Regions from separate parts of the Homo sapiens genome. Here regions 2 and 3 are each linked to region 1. Evidence: promoter capture Hi-C in 16 types of primary human blood cells and fetal thymus (Javierre and others, 2016). All regions are on one chromosome and are shown on one strand. Each heading gives the region's core, a stretch centred on a gene start or on the middle of the fragment in contact. The rest is flanking DNA. Distances are from core to core; before and after follow the strand shown. Region 1 holds the start of NCBP3 (nuclear cap binding subunit 3). Region 2 overlaps ZZEF1 (zinc finger ZZ-type and EF-hand domain containing 1). Region 3 overlaps ZZEF1 (zinc finger ZZ-type and EF-hand domain containing 1).

What was found. Contacts are between HindIII fragments. The CHiCAGO score rates a contact against its expected background, and 5 or more counts as called.
Region 2: a fragment that was not itself captured here is called in contact with the fragment with the promoter of NCBP3 in region 1 in 1 of 17 cell types (naive B cells); the score reaches 5.2 in naive B cells.
Region 3: a contact is called between a fragment that was not itself captured here and the fragment with the promoter of NCBP3 in region 1, in 3 of 17 cell types (megakaryocytes, naive B cells and erythroblasts). The highest score is 6.0, in megakaryocytes.

The regions. Positions count from the first base shown.
Region 1 is chr17:3,844,931-3,847,753 of GRCh38, reverse strand. NCBP3 (nuclear cap binding subunit 3) reads left to right here and starts at 1,508. Exons shown (of 13, transcript NM_001114118.3): 1 at 1,508-1,713. The coding sequence starts at 1,531. RefSeq lists silencers at 1,220-1,339, 1,520-1,809. The HindIII fragment of the contact is 12,990 bases long and covers 1-2,823 here.
Region 2 is chr17:4,045,920-4,049,025 of GRCh38, reverse strand. The region is part of intron 37 of ZZEF1 (zinc finger ZZ-type and EF-hand domain containing 1); the gene reads left to right. Among named protein-coding and RNA genes, the nearest start is that of LINC01975, 70 kb to the right of the region's middle. The HindIII fragment of the contact is 6,904 bases long and covers 1-3,106 here.
Region 3 is chr17:4,095,478-4,098,516 of GRCh38, reverse strand. ZZEF1 (zinc finger ZZ-type and EF-hand domain containing 1) reads left to right here. Exons shown (of 55, transcript NM_015113.4): 10 at 1,817-1,908; 11 at 2,538-2,686. Among named protein-coding and RNA genes, the nearest start is that of ZZEF1, 46 kb to the left of the region's middle. The HindIII fragment of the contact is 2,756 bases long and covers 1-2,656 here.

The sequences.
Region 1 (2,823 bases), core at 259-2,758:
GTACTTTGTGTCCCATTCATCAAATAAAACTAGTCCTCTAAAGAGCTCTGTCTTGTGTTTATCCTGTGGTTTAGCCCAAATTTAAGAAAAACTGTGATGTACTGCACCCCTTCTGTTGGACCCTGTATCTACATATAAATTATCACATTTAACCCTCACAACCTCCTTTGTAGGTAGGTAATGGTCCATTTTACTGATGAAGGAACTGAGACTCCAAAGTGCTAAGCAGCTTGCCTAAGGTCACACATGGTGGATGGGGCCCGGCCAGCCAGCTCGAAACCCAGGTGTGTCTGATGCTGACCATGCTCTTCCTTGGTTTATCATTATTTGCTCCTCCATGGTCAGAGCTGGTAGGGCCTCAGGGCCTCAGAGACTGTAGGGTCTCACCTATGCCCTCCTCAGATGGGAAAACAGACCCAAAAACCTGTCCAAGGTTACCCAGGGAGGAAGATGCAAAATCAGGACTCAGGCCGGGCGCGGTGGCTCATGCCTGTAATCCCAAGACTTTGGGAGGCCGAGGCGGGTGGATCGCTTGAGGTTAGGAATTCGAGACCAGCTTAGTCAACATGGTGAAACCCTGTCTCTACAAAAAAAAAAAAAAAAAAGAAAGAAAGAAAGAAAGAGGAGAGGGAGGAAGGAAGGAAAAGAGAAAGAAAGAAAAGAAGAAAGAAAGGAAGGAAGAAAGGAATAAAGAAAGAAAGAAAGAAAGAAAAAGAAAATCAGGACTCAGAACAGCAGCTGATCAGTGACACCCTCGGGACGCGTAGACAACCCCTCTCCCCCACCAGGCTCTCGTTAGAAATATCCGCCGGAAACTATGCTCACAGGTCTACAGTGGATGGCACCCTCAGGAGTCAGGAAATCGGCGTCCAAGTTCTGGCCTTTGGGCAGGTCTCTCCCTCTTGGAGTCTCAATTTTTGTGTATGTAACATGGGCCAATTTTGGGGAGACTTTTAAGAGACAAAGACTGGCAAGGCAAGTAACTTTATAAACCTACAGATTGTCCAGAGGTGATATATCAAGGCTCATTGTAAACTCTGGAAGACTTAGATCCAGCTTTTATCCCTTAAATGGCGTCACCTTGGGTCAATTTCTATGCCTCAGTTTCCTCATATATGAAATGGGGGTCAAAATAGGATCTACTTCATAGAGTTGTTCTAAGGGTTCGAGCGCTTGGAAGTGTCTGGCCCATAGTGATCACTCAGGAAAGTTGGCTTTTAGTACAGCTTTAGCCTCAAGGCGTAGCTACATTGTAACCCTTGACTACCCCGGTCTCCTCCAAGCTCCGTAGTTCCCGCAGGCCCCGCCCCCGTCCCCGCTCAGTCCCGCCTTCTCCTCCCCAGGTCCCGCCCGCGCAGCCGGCCCGGTTTTCTCCCGCCACCAGGGGGCGGCGGCGCTAAGGGCGGCCTTCTGGGCCGAAGCCGGCGACGCTCTAGGTAGCTGCGGCGGCTCCTCTGTGGCCAGTGGCAGCGGCGCTCTAGCCGGCGGCCGTGAGGGGCGGGCTCTCAGTGGTGCGGCCGGCAGGCAGCGATGGCGGCCGTACGGGGCCTGCGGGTGTCGGTGAAGGCGGAGGCCCCGGCGGGGCCGGCCCTGGGGCTCCCGTCCCCTGAGGCGGAGTCCGGTGTTGACCGTGGCGAGCCGGAGCCCATGGAGGTGGAGGAGGGCGAGCTGGAAATCGTGCCTGTGCGGCGCTCGCTCAAGGAACTGATCCCGGTACGGGCGGGGGTCGGGGGGTAAGGAAGAGGTCGCGGGGCTAGTGTCTAGCGCCGGAGGGGGCCGGAAGGGGCGGTGGCCGGAGCCCCAGCCGGGGAAGTCAAGGGAGCGGGAGAGGAGGGAGCCAGCGTCCTGGGAACGGGAACGCCGGGCTGGAGGAGGGACGCGGAGCGGGAGAAAGGACGCCGGGGCGCCGGAAATGGGTGTTGAGGGGGCTGGGGGGTGGTGGCGGAGAGCTGGGAGGGAGTTGAGGACCCCCCTCCGCTGCCCCCTCTGAGCCGCGCTGTGCAAGGAGGTGAGTGAGGAGGGGCTGGAAGGATGAGATAAAGGGGGAGCCCTGGGCGGGAACAGAACCAGGGGCAGCCCAGAAGGAGCTGTTGGGTGGCGCCAGCAACCAGGTCTCCTTGTGGGTCTTGCCCCGGAGGAATTTGTATCTGGGAAACATGGCACTCGCTCTTTGTCTTGAGAGGGCTGCACTTGTCAGCAGCAGAAACTCACTGTTTCTGTCGTGACTTCGGGGTCATCTTGCCCCCCCCGCAGCTCCAGTGACACCTACACCGTGGCCCCAGCATCTGACTCTTAATGAAAGCAAACTAGCAGACGACCAATAGACATCCTTGGTCCCTCCTTTACCGCGCTGGGGATGGTGAGAGGTGTTTTGCTTGTGACTTGGTGGCTGTATATCCAGTTCTCAGAGCTGGTTTCAGGCCTGGATGACTCCTCTTAATTTCTCACCTAACATGAATTACTTTTGACCACATGTCAACATATTTAGACTGAAGTTATGGAGAAAGGTTAAAGTATGATCGCTAGAGATGGCAAACGTTATAATTATGATTAACAACAGCTAATATAGTAGCATTTACCATTCACTATATTGTGTCACTTAAATATACTGGCCGTGCACGCCTTTAGTGCCAGCTATTCAGGAGTCTAAGTTCCAGACCAGCCTCAGCAATATAGCAAGACCCCTTTGAGGTCCCCCCTTTCCCCTCTCCCCATCTCAAAAACAAAACCAAAATAAATAAATATTACTGCAGTTGTGAAGCAGGTGTTATCATCCCTTTAGTCATTCAGTTCAACATGGTTTTTGTTTTGTTTTGTTTTGAG
Region 2 (3,106 bases), core at 530-3,029, 200 kb before region 1:
TAAAGAAATTAATTGGCCAGGCACAGTGGCCTGTAATCCCAGCACTTTGGGAGGCCAAGGTGGGCGGATCACAAGGTCAGATGTTCAAGACCAGCCTGGCCAACAGGGTGAAACCCTGTCTCTACTAAAAATACAAAAAAAAAAAAAAAAAATTATCCAGGCTGGTGTCACGTGCCTGTAGTCCCAGCTACTCGAGAGGCAGGGGAATCGCTTGAACCCGGGAGGCGGAGGTTGCAGTGAGCCAAGATGGCGCCACTGCACTCCAAACTGGGCGACAGCAAGACTCCATCTCAAAAAAAACAACCAAAAAAAAGTCATTCCTAGCCCATGGTGTACACTGTATCGGTGTAGCTGTATTTATATTCAGTCAACAGTTAGGTGTTACTGATGCTTACTGTTTACCGGGTAGACGCAGTAATTTACACATAGTTGCATAAACAGAAAAGCTATTCTGGATCCAGGTATAACCTGTGATAGTGGCACTAAAGATTGTTTTATGGAAGAGCACGCCATTGTTTCTATGATGCTGCCTCCAGAGCTTGTGTTTCTGCTGAAAAGGCCCTTGACTGCCACAGGGGTCGCTGATGTTGCTGTCCTCTGTCTGTCAGGTTGCTAGTTCAAGGATTCCCCCATCTGGTGGTTGTAGCTCACCAAGGTCCCATTCTCATGTGGAGGAATACAAAAGCAAAACTGGCCAGCAGAAACATCAACATTTTTATTATTTCCATTCAGCCAGAGAGTCAGTAGAAGACAGGCCACATAATCATCAAGCCTGTCTCTCAACCGTCCACATTTTTTCCATGAAACGTCTTCTGTAGGCGGCACTTTAACCACCCACGGATTATGATGGGAACAAAGAGAACATTGTTAGGAGAAATGGGATTAATCAGTAGTCCTCACCTTTGAGCCTGGGAATATTTGTATCTTCTTGTGAGCCCTCAGCATCTTAAAACTAACCTTCCACCCATAAGCACTGTGCTTCCCCGTTTATCCTTTTATTTATGTCAGAATGGACTTAATAGGGTTTTTTTATGGGTTTTTTTTAATTCAATGGATAAAAATCTATTACTTTTCTTATTTTTTTTGAGACAGGGTCTCACTCTGTTGCCCAGGCTGGAGTGCAGTGGTATGATCTTGGCTCACTGCAACCTCCACCTCCTGGGCTCCAATGATCCTCCTACCTCAGCCTCTCAAGTAACTGGGACTACAGGCGCCCACCACCACGCCCAGCTAATTTTTTGTATTTTTAGTAGAGACGGGTTTCACCATGTTAGCCAGGTTGGTCTCGATCTTCTGACCTCGTGATCTGCCTGCCTCGGCCTCCCAAAGTGCTGGGATTACAGGCGTGAGCCACTGCGCCCGGCCACTTTTCTTATTTTTTTTGAGACAGGGTCTCACTCTGTTGCCCAGGCTGGAGTGCAGTGGTATGATCTTGGCTCACTGCAACCTCCACCTCCTGGGCTCCAACGATCCTCCCACCTCAGCCTCTCAAGTAACTGGGACTTCAGGTGTATGCCACCATGCCAGCTAATTTTTGTAGTTTTTGTAGGGATGGGGTTTTGCCATGTTACCCGGTTGGTCTCGAACTCCTGGACTCAAGCAATCCATCTGTCTCAGTCACCCAAAGTGCTAGGATTACAGGCCTGAGCCACTGTGCCTGACCCATTATTTATTTTGATGCTCAAATTGTCCCATGTTTGGGCAGTGGAAACTGCTCCTCCCTGGCTTTTGTGTTCTTTTGATATGTTGCCATTATTTTTTGAACAGTTCCTTAATTTTTGATAGAGAAAGATGTTTCAGGCTTGTTTTAGGCCTTCCCTGCTTCAGGATTGAAATGGGACTTTTTCCAAAGAGGTCCCAGGGCACTGTTTTTATTCTTGAGCCATTCCCACCTTTTGAGTCCCCTTCCCACCCACCAGCAGCCGGGTGCGCCCAGGGTATCCTGCCTCTGGCTCTTCCTCTTAGTCTTCAAGTAAAGCTGCAAGCAATTTCCAGCACTGTCCCCACAACTGAACCTGAGTGTTGCCACTACAGTGGCCATAAGGACTGTATCCCATTGGGGCCCCTAGGACAGATCACTGTTTTTCAACTCTCACGTGCTTCTAAGCAACCCCAGGGCCCTGGTAAGGGTATCTACCTTTTCTCCGTCCAATGACTAGAGATACTTTTTGTTTTCAACAACTGAGAAACTAACCTTAGCCAGAGGCATCATCCAGAAGATTCTGTTTACAGTGTCCTGTGATAACAGGAAAAAAGATAAGTCATTTGCCATAACTTGGGAATTATATTGTCTTCGCAAGTGCCATATGGTACAGGGAGTATGGTGTCGGGTCTTTTCAGAGGGTACATTTAACAAAGCAAGTAGCTCTCCCAGTTTCATTCCTCTCTTAGGACAGTCTTACAGTCACATTTTTCTCAGAAAGAGGTTGAAGGTAGGATTGATATTGAGGTTACATATGCAGAGGGGAGGCTGAGTTAGGTACCCCTGGGAGACGGCATGTCACCTCCTGAATGTTTGGTGTTGAATCACACTCCACCTTTGGCCCCAAAGAGTGAAAGTCAACGTTTGGCCTTCTCAGACCTGAAGCTGGGGTGCCTCCACCATGCACATAACACTTCCCATGTAGCCACAGTTCCACACATAAGCCTGTGTGACAATAGGGAAAGGCACCCTGAGGGTCCCAGGAGTGCAAACAGTCACTGGGGGGATTCTGAGTGACTTCTCAGGAAATGCAGCTGACAGCTGTCACCTTGCCCATCTGGGCAGCTCACCACTAGACTCCTGATTCTAGAAAAGTCTCCCACCTCCAGAAAGGGCCCCTTTAACAAGTCTCATTGCCAAAGTGGGATTCTCAAAAGGGCATCAAAGGTATGTTTATTCTGTTTTTTAAAATAAAGAGGCCGGGCGTGGTGGCTCATGCCTGTAATCCCAGTACTTTGGGAGGCCAAGATGGGTGGATCGCAAGGTCAGGAGATCAAGACCATCCTGGCTAACACAGTGAAACCTCATCTCTACTAAAAATACAAAAAATTAGCTGGGTGTGGTGGCGGACACCTGTAGTCCCAGCTACTCGTGAGGCTGAGGCAGGAGAATCACTTGAACCTG
Region 3 (3,039 bases), core at 29-2,528, 250 kb before region 1:
AACAATCAAAAAAGGAAAATAGTGACTGTCATACAAATATAAGTGAACACATTCATACTTTTAATTTATTTACTTTAATTTATTTATTCATTCATTCATTCATTTGAGACAGGGTCTCACTCTACTGCCCAGACTGGAGTGAAGTGTTGTGATGATAGCTCACTGCAACCTCCACCTCCCAGGCTCAAGCGATCCTCCCACCCTGGCCTCCCAAGTAGCTAGGATTGCAGGTGTGCACCACCGTGCCCAGCTGATTTTTTTTTTTTTTTTTTTTTGAGTTGGAGTCTCACTCTGTCACCCAGGCCGGCTGGAGTGCAATGGTGAGATCTCAGCTTACTGCATCCTCCGCCTCCCGGGTTCAAGCGATTCTCCTGTCTCATCCTCCTGAGTAGCTGGGATTACAGGTGTGTGCCACCACGCCCGGCGAATTTTGTGTTTTTAGTAAAGATGGGGTTTTCACCATGTTGGCCAGGCTCGTCTCGAACTCCTGACCTTAAGTGAACTGCCTGCCTCAGCCTCCCAAAGTGCTGGGATTATAGGTGTGAGCCACCACACCCACCTTGATTTTTGCTTTTTTTTTTTTTTTTTTTGGTAGAAATGGGGTCTCACTGTGCTGCCCAGGCTGGTTTTGAGGCTCAAGTGATCCACTGGCCTCAGCCTCCCAAAGTGCTGGGATTACAGGCATGAGCTACTGTGCCTGGCCCAGACTTTTTATTTAGCTCATTAATTAATGAGGGAACCAGTAAGATGTTACAAACAGTTCTAAGGAGAATTCATAAAATACATGTAGACTAACAAGAATGCTAAAATTAATTTACAAATAGATAGAATGTTGGTCAGTATCCATAAGGAATAATCAGCAACATTTCCACAGAACACAGTGTTTAGTTCTGTGGACAAGAATCATGTGCATCACTACCAGTGTTCTACAACTTACAGAATTGTAAAATAGTTTAGAGACCATAAAAGGCAGAGACGACCGAAAGGGTATGTTGGCTAGGACACCCAGTGATTCTTTTTTTTTTTTTTTTTTTTTTTTCCCATTTCAAAGCCTTTCATAACCTTTCCTGACAAAGTGTTGTAGAAGCTAACTAATCCCTTTCTCAGCCACTAAGCCAGTAGGCTTTATCAGCCCAGGCAGCCATCAGCCATGGTTGTAGGTGTGGCTCAGGAAGATGATTGATTGTCCAGTCTTTTGTCGCTTTGGCTTAAATGTTTTATAAACATTTCTTTTCTTTTTCTTTTTCTTTTTCTTTTTTTTTTTTGAGACGGAGTTTCACTCTGTTGCCCAGGCTGGAGTGCAGTGGCACAATCTCCAAGCTCCGCCTCCCGGGTTCACGCCATTCTCCTGTCTCAGCCTCCCGAGTAGGTGGGACTACAGGCGCCCGCCACCACACCTGGATAATTTTTTGTATTTTTAGTAGAGACGGGGTTTCTCCGTGTTAGCCAGGATGGTCTCCGTCTCCTGATCTCGTGATCCACCCGCCTCGGCCTCCCAAAGTGCTGGGATTACAGACGTGAGCCACTGTGCCCGGCCTAAACATTTATTTTCTTATTGTTACCTCAGAGCAGGGCTGCCTGTGAGGTGGAGGGGATTGTGCCCTGGGAAAGTTGAACCTGGTCAGTTCTCTGCTTACCTGGGGCTTTATCATCGGGGTTGCCTCTGTCCAAAGAGGACATTTTTCTCTAATTTTCGTGAAGATATCAGACCAGTTACCCCCCATGACTCAAAGGATATGGTTTGTTTTTGTTGATCTTAGTTCTTAGGGCTATAAAAATGGGTTAGTTCCCTAACTTGAGTTTTCCCTTTTTTCAGGTTTTCTTACGGAAACTGGAAAAACCAGAGCCAGCACTATTTTTTCTACCGGAACTGAATCTGCCTTCCAAGTTACACAGATAAGAATTATGGTAATTTTCGTGCTACCTTCTTTAAGCAATGTTACTACTTTTGTTTTCAATTTTTATGGGTACATAGTAGGTATATATATTTGTGGGGTACATGAGGTGTTTTGATACAGGCATGCAATGTGAAATAATCATACAGAGGATGAGGATGAGCTATTCATCCCCTCAGGCATTTAGTCTTTGTGTTATAAACAATCCATTACACTGTTGTAGTTACTTTTCCATGTACAATTAGGTTATTATTGAATATTACCTTTTATTACATTTCAGAAGTCCACGTCATTGGTGTTTTGGTTTTTTTTTTTAAAGTCAGACCTATGGCTGACCATGTCATTGGTTATTCATTGAACATTTAATGATGATTTACTCTGTGTCAGGCCTGTAGCAGAGGGCAGGGACACAAAGATGGATAGACTGTAAAGTCTTTGAAATGGTGAGAATATAAGGATTGAGAAAGTTAAGGAACATTTCTTGGGAAACAGCTTTCTTATTTTTTGAGGGCTTAATATGTTTGAAATATTTTTCATTGGTCTCGTTTTGTTTTAACCTGTTTGAATTTAACCATGCTGGAAACAAAACGGCCACAGAACTTTTGCCCCTTTGATAGACTTCATCCTAATCTCTGTTTCCAGGTTCGACGTGGTGGCATTGGTGCCCAGTGTGGGTTGGTGTTTGCCTATAACTCATCTTCAGATAAATTTTGTGCGGAAGAACACTTCAAAAGGTTTGAAAAATATGACAAATGGAAGCTTCAGGAGCTCAGGCAATTTGTAAAAAGCAGGTAAGAAGGTAAAAAATCTTTGTAGAACAAAGATCTACAGAACAAAAATCTTTGTAGTTAATAAGAATGTATTCATGCTCATTGGTGAACTGTGCTTGCTTGTCTTTATAGAAAAGGCGCCACTAATCCATCTCAGTGGCCATAAGCCTTCATTGCTTTCTAGTAGCATATCTGAAGATGTGTATGTTAATTTGTTCATAGCATGTTACTCAGTCCCTTTTGTGGCCAGGGGCACACATCTTCACAATGGCTGGGTAATGATCTATCTATGCCTGAATTGTGGACAGCCTGCAGTCTTTAGCCATTGCCCCAACCCCCCTTCTCCCATTCCTGCTTTTAACACAAATACTTAT